4 separate regions of the Homo sapiens genome follow, and all the other regions are linked to region 2. Evidence: promoter capture Hi-C in 16 types of primary human blood cells and fetal thymus (Javierre and others, 2016). All regions are on one chromosome and are shown on one strand. The core of a region is centred on a gene start or on the middle of the fragment in contact, and the rest is flanking DNA. Distances in the headings are between cores, read along the strand shown. Region 1 has its middle 2.5 kb from the start of LINC02552. Region 2 holds the start of CASP5 (caspase 5). Region 3 has its middle 55 kb from the start of LINC02552. Region 4 overlaps LOC105369468 (a long non-coding RNA gene).

Region 1 (3,214 bases), core at 597-3,096, 410 kb before region 2:
TTAGAATCCTCAACCAAAACATACCTTCAGCTGCATGGCACCAAAATGGGTCATGACAAGATCATGTTGGGGCAAAACAAACTTTAACATCTCACCTGTCAACCTGGCTCTGGTCACGATCAAAGCTAAGCTTCTTTGAAGAAGCCTTGCTACTTTGAGGCTGGTAACAAGGATCAAAAAGGGATACAATAAATAATACTATTTCTGGACAGGTAGATTCTGATAGGGAGGTCTAGCGTATTTCTAATACAGATGCCTACCTCATCTGGTCTTCTTGGAAACAAAAAATTATATTGTGTAGGATAGCCAGAAATCTACCTGCTATATAAAAAGATAAAATTGTAAAATGAAATGGATGTCATGTTTGAACACATGCCATACCATCATTTTTAGGTAGCAGCCTTTCAGGATATAGACAAATATATTTGGGATGGTTTCTGGGTGTATAATCCATTGGAAAAGCTATTTTAATATAAAAATTCACTGTCAAAATATTAATAAACAACTAGTCTTTTTTCAAATCTCTTGTGCAATAAACATAGATTCAAGACAAGTGATTTTTGTCGTGTCATCTTATTTGTAAGACATGTCTCTCTAGTTGGATAGTGATTGGCTTGTTGGTTTGAACGTCAGGAGGTTAAAATCTTAATTTAAATATGCATTAGTATTAAAATATGTTCAAGAGAATGTCACATCAACCTCAACCTCAAAGTACCAATTATGTTGTTTGGGTTCCACATTTGACACTGTTCTGACTAAACTGATATCCCCCGTTCAGAATTTCTAAAAATGCCTCAGATCTCAGTTTCATAATACATTCTATGTAAAGTAGAAACATTAAGAAAAACTGAATTATAGAAACATAATTTCATAGTTTCAAGGACATAGAAGTCAAAGCATACTGCTTGAAGCTAATGAACAATTATAAAGATGTAGAAGCCAGCACATTATTAGCATTAGGTTAGAAGAAATAGACAATTCTGTAACCACTCAACAGGATGGATTCAAAACAAAGAAATTGTTAAGTTTGGAGTTTAATTATAAACACTAATTTGTAACTTGGATGAGAACAGTAACTGTTTTTAATCCTTAGCCAGTGTTTTATTTTTTTCCCTGAAGCCGCTTATTGAAGAAAATAAATGACGCAGGAAAAGCAAGGGGAATAACTAATAACCAACATTTTATGCATATATATGTGTAGAACTTAAGTGAGAAAAAAACTGATGGCACCATAGTCAATTTAAATAAGATAAAACGTATCAATCAAGCAGTCAACCATAAATCTCTAAGAAACAAGAAGCCCATGTACAAATTCACGGAAACATGGTAATTGATCTTTGTTGATAACGTTGAAGCACTTTGTGATTCAGAAAAAAAAACAAATTTGGAAGTTATCGTATACATAATATGGTTTTACACATAATATTATGTATATTTTATTACATTTTATATTTTTAGATATTATTCATACCCAATTTGTGGCAATCCTGTGAATCCGATCATTGGTAAGTTAGAATAGTTCTTTCCAGGTAATTATTTTTAATTTACTATTTTCAAATAATTTTAAACTTTGGTAAAGTGGTTTGCAGAGATAGTTGCTCTGACAGGCTGTAAATCGGTTTAGTAGCTACCTAACAGCATGGAATATAAGAATGTGCTCGGCGTGTTAACTGTATACATCAATTTCTTAAAAGCTAAAATATCTATATAAAAATAAGGTGCTTTAGGAAAAGAAGGCCATTGGAAGACCCATGAAAATGGTAATTGACTTTCTGAACCAGAAAAGTAAAGCGATAACATAAAGGAAAGAAACAAGATGACAAAAGGTATCATAAAGTATTACACTTGAGTGCTCTCAGTTACATAGATGGCGGTTCCTGAATCATCCTGATTTTGTGAAACAAGTGGAAAATGGATAAAAAAAAGACTGCCTCTCTGTAGACTGATAAGATCCCAACTGTTAAGAAGTGAAAAGTTTCCCAACTTATGCAAATGAAGAATTGCAACAAGTTGGCCAGAAAGGTGATGGTATCTATCAGTCAGGGATCTTTCTGCTCTAAGTGATTGACAATTCAACTTAAATTGGATTAATAAAACTGAGGTATTATTGGCTATAATGTAAACAAGTAGTTCAGTTTAATTAGAAACTAAAATTCTAATGATTAGAATTTCTCTTTACACTGCCCCTTGCCCTCTGGGCTAGCTCAGCCCTTTGAATAGTGCCTCTCAACGGATGTACAAGAGCAGCAGCAAGCAGCAACCTTTACATTCTTCTACCACCCACTTCAGGGAGGCTGTTGTCTCACAGGCCTAACAATTGTTCTAAGGATCACACCTCTGGGGCTGGACTAAATTACTGGTCAATATCTGTAGCAATCCTGATGGCCAGGAAAATATAATGTGCCTATTGGCTGAAGCCTGCATACATCCATTGATTAGTGAACTCATCCAATAAATAATCAACGTGTTAGAACCTTTCTTTGACCCCAATCACTGTGGCCAAGAGTGTGAGCTGTGCGAATAAACCCTAGGCAGTACCATCAAAATTGCATAACCAATAATGCGAAACTAGTAGTTTCCCAAAAGCAGATGGGATATTATTTAAAGGAAGGAAAATAATAAATGCTGAAAAGAAAGCAACTCCAGGGAAAAATTCCCAGCTGTTTTCTTGATTCTATACATATATAGAGTGGATAAGTTCAAGGAGGCTGAACAAAGAGAGAGAATGCATTTCAATATTCCTAATGCAGGTTCAGCAAAAAGGGATATATGTAAGGAGCTATTAAGTTCATCAATAAAGTGATCTAGTCTTATAAACAAGGTCATATCAAGTTTTTTGAGTCTGTTCACTGTTAGAGCACTCGTTTATGTATTCTGTAGTACTTAAGGTTGAGGTAGTTTTATATTTAAGTTATATGTAAAGAACTTCTACTCATTCTTTAAGAGTTGGCCAAGTATTCTTTCTGTGAATACTTAACTGAAACCCCTTATATCAGTCACAAGTATACTTCATGCATATACTAATTTGTACACTTTTCAGAGTCTGTTGTAATTATGTTTGTGTTTCTGTCTTCCCTACTTAGCTTTGAGCTGTTAGATGACATGGTTTATTCATTTTATCTAGGATATGGCACAACTGGGTATAATGCTCAACTAATATTTGGTTAAAAAATAAATATATAATTTAACATTTTTCTTTCTTTACCCATTCATC
Region 2 (3,670 bases), core at 99-2,598:
AAAGGACTATAAATCATGCTGCTATAAAGACACATGCACACGTATGTTTATTGTGGCATTATTCACAATAGCAAAGACTTGGAACCAACCCAAATGTCCAACAATGATAGACTGGATTAAGAAAATGTGGCACATATACACCATGGAATATTATGCAGCCATAAAAAATGATGAGTTCATGTCCTTTGTAGGGACATGGATGAAATTGGAAATCATCATTCTCAGTAAACTATCACAAGAACAAAAAACCAAACACCGCATATTCTCACTCATAGGTGGGAACTGAACAATGAGAACACATGGACACAGGAAGGGGAACATCACACTCTGGAGCCTGTTGTGGGGTGGGGGGAGGGGGGAGGGATAGCATTGGGAGGTATACCTAATGCTAGATGACGAGTTAGTGGGTGCAGCCCACCAGCATGTCACATGTATACATATGTAACTAACCTGCACATTGTGCACATGTACCCTAAAACTTAAAGTATAATAATAATAAATAAATAAATTAAAGAAAAAAAAAGACTGCAGATTATTCATATATGTTATAAGGTTTAGAAAGCACTGATCTATTCCAGTTTCTTCCTTTTTCCAGTGAGGAGAATGAAACCAAAGACGCAATATGACCTGCTGGAATACGAGCTGCTTAAGTAGCCCAGGACTCCAACTCATAGGCTTTTTTAGCTTCTGTGTATAAGACAGTTGGCCTGAAAGTAGTGTGCAGTATGGACTGAAGGGTTAAGTTTTTGGGAGTGGGAAGACAGTTAAAAGTCTATGATAGCAACCTAAGATATATTACATTATAAGAGTTAGTACCAGGACTACATAGAAAGGTGGAAAAATGCAATCACTTTAAACAGACCAATAAGATAATTCAAGATAAGAGATGACAACACGTTGAGAACACAGAGGCTCTCAGATCTGATTGTGGGGAGAAGGTTCATAGTCTGGAGGATTAATTTGGAATCAAGAGGAAGCAGAGAAGATTTCAGAGTGCATTTAGAAATTTCCGGAGTTTTCTCACACAAATAACTTACTCTGTCTTTCCTTACTCTCTCTTTGATTACCAGAAGCTGAAAGAAAGGAATTAACCTTTTTCTGGCTTGAAAACATCTAGAGAACATACTCTCCTTCAGTGTCTCTACACAGTCTCAGGATTCAAACTACATACCACCAATAAGAGAAAGATTCAGCATGCACACTATTGGTTGATTTCCCTTTTGGTATTTCTGCCTGTCACATAGCAATAAATCAAGATTTTTCTAAGACCTGAGTACCCAGCTGCTAGTCAGAAAAGGGCCCAGACTCACCAGCCATAGCTAACAGCCTCTGTCTCTTTGTACAGCACTGGAAAGTGCCTCAGACTCAGAGATAAAATACACTAGGTACTTCCTTATTGCAGGGAGTGGGGACAAGTGATTACAGATTATGGGAAGTTGCTTCTGGGAACCTATAGTTTCATCATTGGGAAGTGCCCTGTAGTAAGCAAATTGGCTTTCTATTCTTGAACTCTAGATTCTTCCCTGGGGAAAAAAAATGCAAATGACAAAACATTGTTTTGTGGGTTGAAACCTCAGCCTGGTTTTCTTTTTCCTTTTCTCTCTCCATAGCCCCACATCTTCTTTTATTCATCCCTCTCTTCTGATCTGTCAGTTTTTCTACCTCTGCTCGTCTAAAAACACATGTCCTGAATGAGTAAAATCTAACTAGTTTCCTTGCATCTTCCCATAAGAATTAACCAAATATTTTGTATATCTTGGGTTTCTTTATTTTTCATTTCAATTTTTATTTGAGTTTCAGGGGTACATATGCAGGTTTGTTACAAGAGTATATTAGGTGATGCAGAGGTTTGTAGTACAATTTAACCTATTACCTAGGTAGTGAGAATAGCACCCAGTACATAGTTTTTCGGCTCTTGCCTTCTTCCTTCATTCCTCCCTCTGGTATTTCCCTGTGTCTGTTATTCCCGTCTTTATGTCCATGTGTACACAATATTTAGCTAGAACTTACAAGTGAGATTATGTGATATTTGGTTTTCTGTTTCTGCATTAATTTGCTTAGAATAATGGCCTCCAGTTGCATCCATGTTGCTGCAAAGGGCAGGGTTTCATTTTTATGGCTGTGTAACATTCCATAGTAGCAGTGTACCACATTTTTTTAAATCCAATCCACCATTGATGGACACCTGGGTTGATTCTATTATTTTGGCTACAGTGAATAGTGCTGCGACAAACATTTGAAAGCACATGTCTTTTTGATAGAACAGTACATTTTCCTTTGAGGATTCAGTCAGTAATGGGATGCTTGGACAAATGATAGTTCTTTTTTTAGTTATTTGGTAAATCTCCAAACTGCTTTTCAAAAAGATGGATGCATCACATTACTGGACTTCAAGCTATGCTAGAAGTCTACAGTAACCACAACAGCAAGGTATTCGTACAAAAAAAACAGACACAAAGCCCAATGGAACAGAATAGAGAACCCCAAAATAAAGCCACACACCTATAACCAACTGATACTCAACAAAGTCAACAACAACAGCAAAAAGAAACAAGGAAAGGATTGTTTATTCAATAAATGTATTTCTTGTTTAAACTGTGCTGAGGAATCATGATGGAGTCTTCTCCTCCCCATCTCCCTGTCATCTTACGCTTTGATTGGAGACAGTTCTGAAGGAATCCTCTTATCTACTTCCTGGAATGCTGTTCTTCAACTGACTAAAACTGCTTTAACAGTTAATTTTTACTTAGGGTGGCAATTCACTTCTCCTTTTTGATATTCTCTGAGCAAAGACTGATCACAGATGTAGTCTCAGGTTGTAGTAGAGTATGCATGATAACACAGAAGAGATATGCCCAGAGAAACAGTTAATAAAAGGTAAAAAAAAAAAAAAAGAGAGAGAGAGAGAGACTGTAATGTGTTCAACTATGAAGGTGTTTAAGAAGTCAGAAATTAACTCTCATTTAATCTGTTAAATATTAGAAAAAAACATATTTGCAAGTAAGGGGTAGTTCTTCGAATCCTCCCTAAATCTTAACATCCCTGAGTGCATGATTTCACCCCAAACTCGTTTTCTCTGCACCATGCCAGGACTTCACTGTGCACACCATGCATCCTAGAGTTTCTTCAGGGTGTCAGGCACCATCTGCCAAGCGCTTCATTTTGGATGGCTGTCTTATCTTTTCAAGAAGTCTGTGAACTACTGAGGGTTGATTCAAAACTTACTTTGTCTTAAATACTTTTGCAAAGGGTAGAAACATGCAAGTTCATGGATTTGTCAGTAGCAAACTGTGGGATTTGGGAAAAGTTCTTTATCACACTACACTGTCGCTGTCATAACTAGCTGTCTTCCCCCGTCTCTCCTGCTGAGCTCTAAATTATTTGAAGTCAGATACCTGCTGTAACTTATATCACATCCCCAAAGCAGAAAGCCCAGCAAACGATTTTTCTTTTTTTAAAAATGGCACAAAATAAATTTTTGTTCAAGAAAGTAATTAATAACATTGCTATGTTTGTAAGTCTGATTTTCTTTTTTAAATTTTTATATTTTATTTTACTTTAAGTTCTGGGAAAGAAAGGTGCCAATAGCCAGTTTGGGTCTGACAGATTAAGTCAAACACTCTAAATTCCTTAGTCACTCTAAGTTCCAGTCCCTGTTTCTTCAGTGTGG
Region 3 (3,469 bases), core at 818-3,317, 360 kb before region 2:
TATGGCTCAGTTTTAAAGAAAAGAGAAGAATGATGATGAGAACTGTAAATTTGGAGTTTGGTTGACCTCTAAAACTAAAATTAATTTGCATGCTTGCCTTTTCACTCATCAAATGAGGTACAGTTGCAATTTATTTTCAAAGAAGATGAGTCTTTATTATTTTATTTCCATTTTTGCATAACTTGCATACAGTAAAATTCACTCATCTGGGGGCACAATTCTTGATTTTGGCAAAAGCATGCATTTGTGTAGCCACCAACACAATCAAAATAATGAATAGTTTAATTTCATCACCCTAAAAATTCATTCATGCTCCCTTGCGACCAAATTGTAACCCCACCCCAGTATATGGAAGGCACTGATTCATTTTTCCATTCCTATACTTTTGTCTTTTCCAGTATGTAATATAAATGAAATTATTTTAGTATGAAACCTTTCCATTCTGCCTTCTTGTACTTAGTATAATGAATGTGAGATTCATCCATGCTGCAGAGTACAACAGAAGTTTAGTTCTTTTAGTTGCTGACTAGTATGCCATTGTACGGATGCATCAGTTTGTTTATCCATTCACTATTTAGGATATTTAGAGGTTTTGGCTAGTTATGACTAACACCACTATAAAGATTTGCATATAAGATAGTGTGTGAATAAAAGTGTTTCTTTCTCTTGGGTAAATACTTAGAGAAGTTGGATTGCTCAATTGTAGTTCAGGTATATGTTTAACTTTGTAAGAAACTGCCTTACTAGGCATGTACCACCAGAGCCTTTTTGCCTGGTCCCAGTCGTTTTGGCGAGCACCCAGTGGAGGTTCATGAAGAAGAGCTTGTGAATGTGAGTAAAGTACCCCTGTGTCTGTGGCTCCCAGAGAGCCACATGATGATGTGACATCATGCTCTTAATGAGCCTCTTCCTGCCCTTTAGGAATCTGGGGAACATGGAGCTGAATCCTTACTGGTTTGTTGCCCAACTGGCATGTCTTTCTCTAGTGTTCTGCCAAGTAATCCTGGGTTCATGTCCTGTCTCATCCAGGGAACTCCTATCTCATCAGATTTTAGTCTATTTGATTGTCATGTAACATCAGTTTTCTGATGGGTTCATGAAAACTTGTGAAATTTTTTGTTTACCTGTGGTCAGAATAAAAGGAATGCCTCTTCCAGTTTCCTCCATCCTCCATGGGAGTTTAGCTGTGCTGAGGTTTTTAATGAGACCACATTACAATTTCTGATGCTCTCAGGCACAATTGCCTTTAAATAAAGTCTTGAGGTAAATGAGCTACTCAGTGAAGGTGAACTTTGGCAGAAACGTCTGAAATTTTTAAATGCAAATTTATCTCTTCCATTTTAACTATTGTGGAGTCCTGAAGAAATATCCTCTGACGTTAACTTTGAGCTTTGTAAAATAATATAAAATGATAAGGAAAGAAGAATTGCTACTATGATCATTGTATATTCAAATCATGGACAGAGCTGGATATTAAAATGAATACGTTTGTACTAATTAACCAGTAGGCTTTTTTCACAAAGCTAGAGAGGAAAACCCATCCTTTTACTGAACTAAATTTGTTGCCTTTTCCTCAAGTTTTCAGTTGCATATGAAAGCTTACTTTTCGTTTCCTTCTATTATTGTTTACCAGATTAGGCATCCATGCTTTGCTGGTGAACTTACACATATTCCTTAAGACACAAACTATTTTTTTTAATCTTACCTTTTTCCTTAACAGAAGCATAGTGGCAGATGTTGTGAGTTATCTGGTATGGTTTGAACATTTGTCTCCACCAAATCTCACATTAAAATTTGTTCCCCAAAGTTGGAGATGGGTCCTGGTGAAAGGTGTTTGGGTCGTGGGGGTGGATCCCCACTTTTCCTCTCTCTTGCCATGTGCTCTTTACACACTGGCTGTCCTTCACCTTGTGCCATGAACAGAAGCAGTCGGAGACCCTCATCAGAAGCAGGTGCTGGTGCCGTGGTTCCTGTATAGTCAGCAGAATCATGAGCCAAATAAACCTCTTTTCGTTATAAATTACCCAGATTTAGGCTTTCTTGCATAGCAACATAAACAGAGGAAGGGATGATCTATGCTTTATTCTCTCTGCCTTTCTTTCTTGATAGGAGAATTCACAATTTTACTTAGTGTTTAATTTTCTCTAAATACTCCAAGACACCTCTTGGATGCAGATCAATCTCTCTAATTGGGAATATGAGGGTCCCCACTATCTATTTCCATCTCAGCCCTCCAATCTCGTTGCTCATCATTCCCTGACTCAAATACCAAAAGGCTAGTGGTACCCTTTCCAAACCATGCTGTTTCTCTTTTTAATGTCTTGCCTCATAACACATGCATTTTCTGCAAAGTCTACTCCTTACCCATTATTAAACATATTTTAAATTTCAGATCTGAAGGCACCTCCTCCAGGAAGACTTGCCTGATTCTCCATGGGCTGTTATGTGCACCTTGAATATACCCTCTTTATCATCCTTGTTGTAACACACATTATGGATTAATCATCTTTTTTTTTCTATCTCTTTCTTTGTTTACTAAGCTTCTTGAATAAAAGGATTGTCTCATTCACCATTATGTTTTTTGCACAGTGCCTGACACGTTCAATATATTTTTCACTTTTGATGTTTCACTTAAAGGCTAGTGCTTTTCCTGAGTGACAAGTCAATGAATTGAGAGATTTAAAAAAAGAAGCCACAGGATGAGAGAAAATATTTGCAAAACACATACCTGAAAAAGGACTATTATCCAAAATGTACAAAGAAGTCTTAAAATTCAACAATAGTAAGCAAACAACCCAATAAATAAATGGGCAAAAGATCTGAAGAGACATCTCATCAAAGAAGATAAGCAGATGGCAAGCAAAACAAAGATAAATAGATGTTCCACATTATATGCCATTAGGAAACTGAAAATTCAAACAACGAGACACCTCTACACACCTATTAAAATGACTTAAATTCAGAACACTGACAACACCAAATACTGACAAGAAGGAAGCGCGAAAGGAAATTCTACTCATTGCTGGTGATTGCAAAATAGTACAGCTGCTTTGGAAGACAGTTTGGCAGTTTCTTACAAAGCTAAACAGAGTTTTACCACATGATCCAGCAATTCACTCTGTGATATTTACCCAAATGACTTAAAATTTATGCCCACACAGTGACCTGCATATGAACATTTATAGCAGCTGTATTTATAATTGCCAAAAAAATGGAAGCAACCAAGCTGTCTTTCAATAAGTGAATGAATAAATAGCCTGTTATATATACAGGCAATGGACTATTATTTAGCACTAAAGAGAAAGGAGTTATCAAGCCATAGAAGGACATAGATAAAACGTAAGTGTCTATTACCAAGTGAAAGAAGGCAATGTGAAAGCTCTACATACTATATGATTGTAACTATGTGATATTCTGGGAAAGAGAAAACTGTATAGAGACAGTAAAAAAATAAAATAAAAAAGTGATT
Region 4 (3,366 bases), core at 562-3,061, 350 kb after region 2:
TTTACCAGGATCAGACATAATTCTTAACATCATATTTCAAATGTAGTTATAGCTCCCTCATATTTTTGTGTGCAATTACAAATTCCGACACGCAGGGGAACTTTGAAATAAGTCGTGTGAATATATGGAAGCATAAAAGGAGAGATTTAAATATCACTATGATATGCCAGGAAGGAAATATGACACGACAATGTTAATACAGTCTGAGAGTTCAGACAGCATGCTGAGTGACTTTCCTTTCTTTAAGAGTATCTGTCAACAGACATTCAGAACACTGATCATGCTCTCCACGCAGATTTAAGGCTCAACAAAATTGAAGAATAAATCAGCAGTATACCTTGTGTATGCTTTTTGAAAACAAAACTACCTATGAAAATCAGTTTAGAGTTATTTATAACGTTTTGGCTCTCACTTTTCCCTCAGTAACCTTACTCAGAGGATGACTTTTGACACAGCTTACTGTAATCACACACATGTTAAAATGAGAACACTAGCTCAATAAGCTTAAGGCTTCTTTAGAATCTTAACATTTATAAAACTCTCTGTAAATAGTAACTATAAAATGTATTTTTTTTCTGAATTCTTTTATCTTGGGTGAAATAGTGTAACTACTTCATCTTTTCCTAAAAATAATGGTTTATAGATAGTAATACAAATAATACACATTTACAAAGCTAATTTTGTTTTCTGCAAGCTAATGCCCACTAATGAGAAACTAGGTTTACTGTCATTGTTATCATCCATATGATCTTGTCGGTGATTTTCCTAAAGATTGAGTTTATCAAATTTTTTGGGAAAAAATAATCCCCTTTTACATCTTACCTATCAACATAATGATCTTGTTTTATGTAATCTTGTTGTTTTCAACCATTGTTTTCTTGAAAAGGAGTATTTGAAAATGATTGTATATTAATATGTAAAATATAAGATTTTCCTATCAAAAAATTAAAAACATATGCATCACTTCATAGTGTTAGTTATTTGGAATTGAGAGGTGGATGAGGAGAGGACTGAGAAAGGCAGGTTGTTGAAGTGAGCTTCCAGTAATTTCACATCAGGGCCAGTGTTACAAACTATATCGCAAAAGTCTGGATAGATTATCTAATTTTTTTTTTGAGATGGAGTTTTGCTCTTGTTGCCCAGGCTGGAGTGCACTGGCGCAATCTCGGCTCACTGCAACCTCTGCCTCCTGGGTTCAAGCGATTCTCCTGCCTCAGCCTCCCGAGTAGCTGGGATTACAGGTGTGCGCCACCACACCTGGCTAATTTTTGTACTTTTAGTAGAGACGGGGTTTCACCATGTTGGCCAGGCTAGTCTCAAAACTCCTGACCTCAGGTGATATGCCCGCCTCGGTCTCCCAAAGTGCTTTGATTACAGGTGTGAGCCCCCGCACCCGGCCAGATTATCTAAAATTTTCAAATGTGTAAGGCAAGGAGAAAAAATAATTTTATCGTTAAATTAACAAGGCAAAAAATCAAGCTACTGTCTGCTAAATACCAAGTATAAAATAATTTTAAAGTCAAATCTATCTACTACTATGATAAGGTCAATTACATAGTTATATACACACAAATATATTAAATGTTAAAATAAAAGTTAAATTTCTAACGTATCATCATCTCTTTCCTAATTTTTTCCTAGTCTGACTGTACCAGTGTGTACCATTATGATTGCCTTTGGTGTGCTCAAAATAGCATTACTAAGTTAATAGTTTAAGAATTTTCATGCAGAGAAATACCTGAAATTAAATGCCAATACTTAATGTCATCTATTTTCTTTTCTTTTTTTTTTTCTTTTATTTTTTGAGACAGAGTTTTGGTCTTGTTGTCCAGGCTGGAGTGCAATGGCACGATCTCGGCTCACCACCACCTCTGAGTCCCAGTTTCAAGTGATTCTCCTGCCTCAGCCTCCTGAGTAGCTGGGATTACAGGCATGCACCACCACGCCCAGCTAATTTTGTATTTTTAGTAGAGCCAGGATTTCTCCATGTTGGTCTGGCTGTTCTCGAACTCCTGACCTCAGGTGATCCACGCGCCTTGGCCTCCCAAAGTGCTGGGATTACAAGCATGAGCCACTGCACCCAGCCAATGTCATCTATTTTCAATTCTCCATCTAGATTTTAGACTTGAAAAAAAAAAAAAAAAGCCAAAGGAATATATGGGAAAGTGATCTGGTCTGAAAATTCAGGAAGCTAGACCAACTCCTAGAAAGGTGGTCTAGCTTCCTGAATTTCCAGTCCAGATCACTTTCCCTGTATATTTGATATTAATCAACAGAAAAATGAGGAAGGAGGCAATGATGTCTTAGAAATCATGCAGACAATGTGACTTTGACTAAGCCCCAGGTGTTTTTCTTCTCTTCAGTCAATTAGAATAACAAGAGACACTAAGATTTTATAAAACAGTGCATTTTCATGTGTTATAAAATCAATCGTTAATTGTATTAGTTCGTTTTCACACTGCTGATAAAGACACACCCGAAACTGGGTAATTTACAAGAAAAGAGGTTTAATTGACTCACAGTTCCACATGGCTGTAGAGCCCTCACAATTATGGTGGAAGGTGAATGAGGAGCAAAGTCATGTCTCACATGGTGGCAGGCAAGACAGCATGACAGCCAAGTGAAAGGAGAAACCCCTTATAAAACCATTAGATCTGGTGACACTTATTCACTACCATGAGAACAGTATGGGGAAAACTGCCCCCATGATTCAATTATCTTCCACCAGGTGCCTCCCACAACACAGCGTAATTATGAGAGCCACAGTTCAAGAAGAGATTTAGACAAGGACACAGCCAAACCATATCATTACACCCTGGCCCCTCCCAAATCTCATGTCCTCACATTTCAAAACCAATCATGTCTTCCCAACATTCCCCCAAAGTCTTAACTCATTTCAGCATTAATTAAAAAATCCACAGTCCAAAAGCTCATCTGAGACAAGTCAAGTCCCTTCTGCCTATGAGTCTTTAAAGTCAAAAGCACATTAGTTACTTCCTAGATACAATGGAACTATAGGCATTGGATAAACACACCCATTTTAAATGGGAGAAATTGGTCAAAACAAAGGAGCTAAAGGCCCCATGCAAGTTCAAAATCCAACAGGCCAGTCGAACATTAAAGCTTTGAAATGATCTCCTTTAATTCCATGTCTCACATCCAGGTCACTCTGATGCAAGAGGTGGGTTTCCATAGTCTTGGGCAGCTCCACCCCTATGGCTTTGCAGGGTACAGCCCTCCTCCTGGCTGCTTTCATGGGTTGGTGTTGTGTCTGTGGCTCTTGCAGGCACGCAGTGAAAGGTGTTGGTAGATTTACCATTCTGGTGTGTGGAGGACGGTGGCCCTTTTCTTACAGCTCCACTAGGT

Evidence for each region. The method cuts DNA at HindIII sites, captures the fragments that hold promoters and counts their contacts. A CHiCAGO score of 5 or more calls a contact.
Region 1: a contact is called between a fragment that was not itself captured here and the fragment with the promoter of CASP5 in region 2, in 6 of 17 cell types (activated CD4 T cells, naive CD8 T cells, total CD8 T cells and 3 more). The highest score is 6.8, in activated CD4 T cells.
Region 3: a fragment that was not itself captured here is called in contact with the fragment with the promoter of CASP5 in region 2 in 2 of 17 cell types (non-activated CD4 T cells and activated CD4 T cells); the score reaches 5.3 in non-activated CD4 T cells.
Region 4: a fragment that was not itself captured here is called in contact with the fragment with the promoter of CASP5 in region 2 in 1 of 17 cell types (neutrophils); the score reaches 5.2 in neutrophils.

The regions. Positions count from the first base shown.
Region 1 is chr11:104,610,216-104,613,429 of GRCh38, forward strand. No RefSeq gene overlaps it. Among named protein-coding and RNA genes, the nearest start is that of LINC02552, 2.5 kb to the left of the region's middle. The HindIII fragment of the contact is 3,436 bases long and covers 129-3,214 here.
Region 2 is chr11:105,021,820-105,025,489 of GRCh38, forward strand. CASP5 (caspase 5) reads right to left here and starts at 1,349. Exons shown (of 10, transcript NM_004347.5): 1 at 1,311-1,349. The coding sequence starts at 1,317. The region is part of intron 1 of LOC124902742 (a long non-coding RNA gene); the gene reads left to right. It also overlaps a transcript of CASP1 not described here. The HindIII fragment of the contact is 8,276 bases long and covers 1-3,670 here.
Region 3 is chr11:104,662,788-104,666,256 of GRCh38, forward strand. No RefSeq gene overlaps it. Among named protein-coding and RNA genes, the nearest start is that of LINC02552, 55 kb to the left of the region's middle. The HindIII fragment of the contact is 942 bases long and covers 1,597-2,538 here.
Region 4 is chr11:105,372,197-105,375,562 of GRCh38, forward strand. The region is part of intron 2 of LOC105369468 (a long non-coding RNA gene); the gene reads right to left. Among named protein-coding and RNA genes, the nearest start is that of CARD18, 230 kb to the left of the region's middle. The HindIII fragment of the contact is 2,620 bases long and covers 502-3,121 here.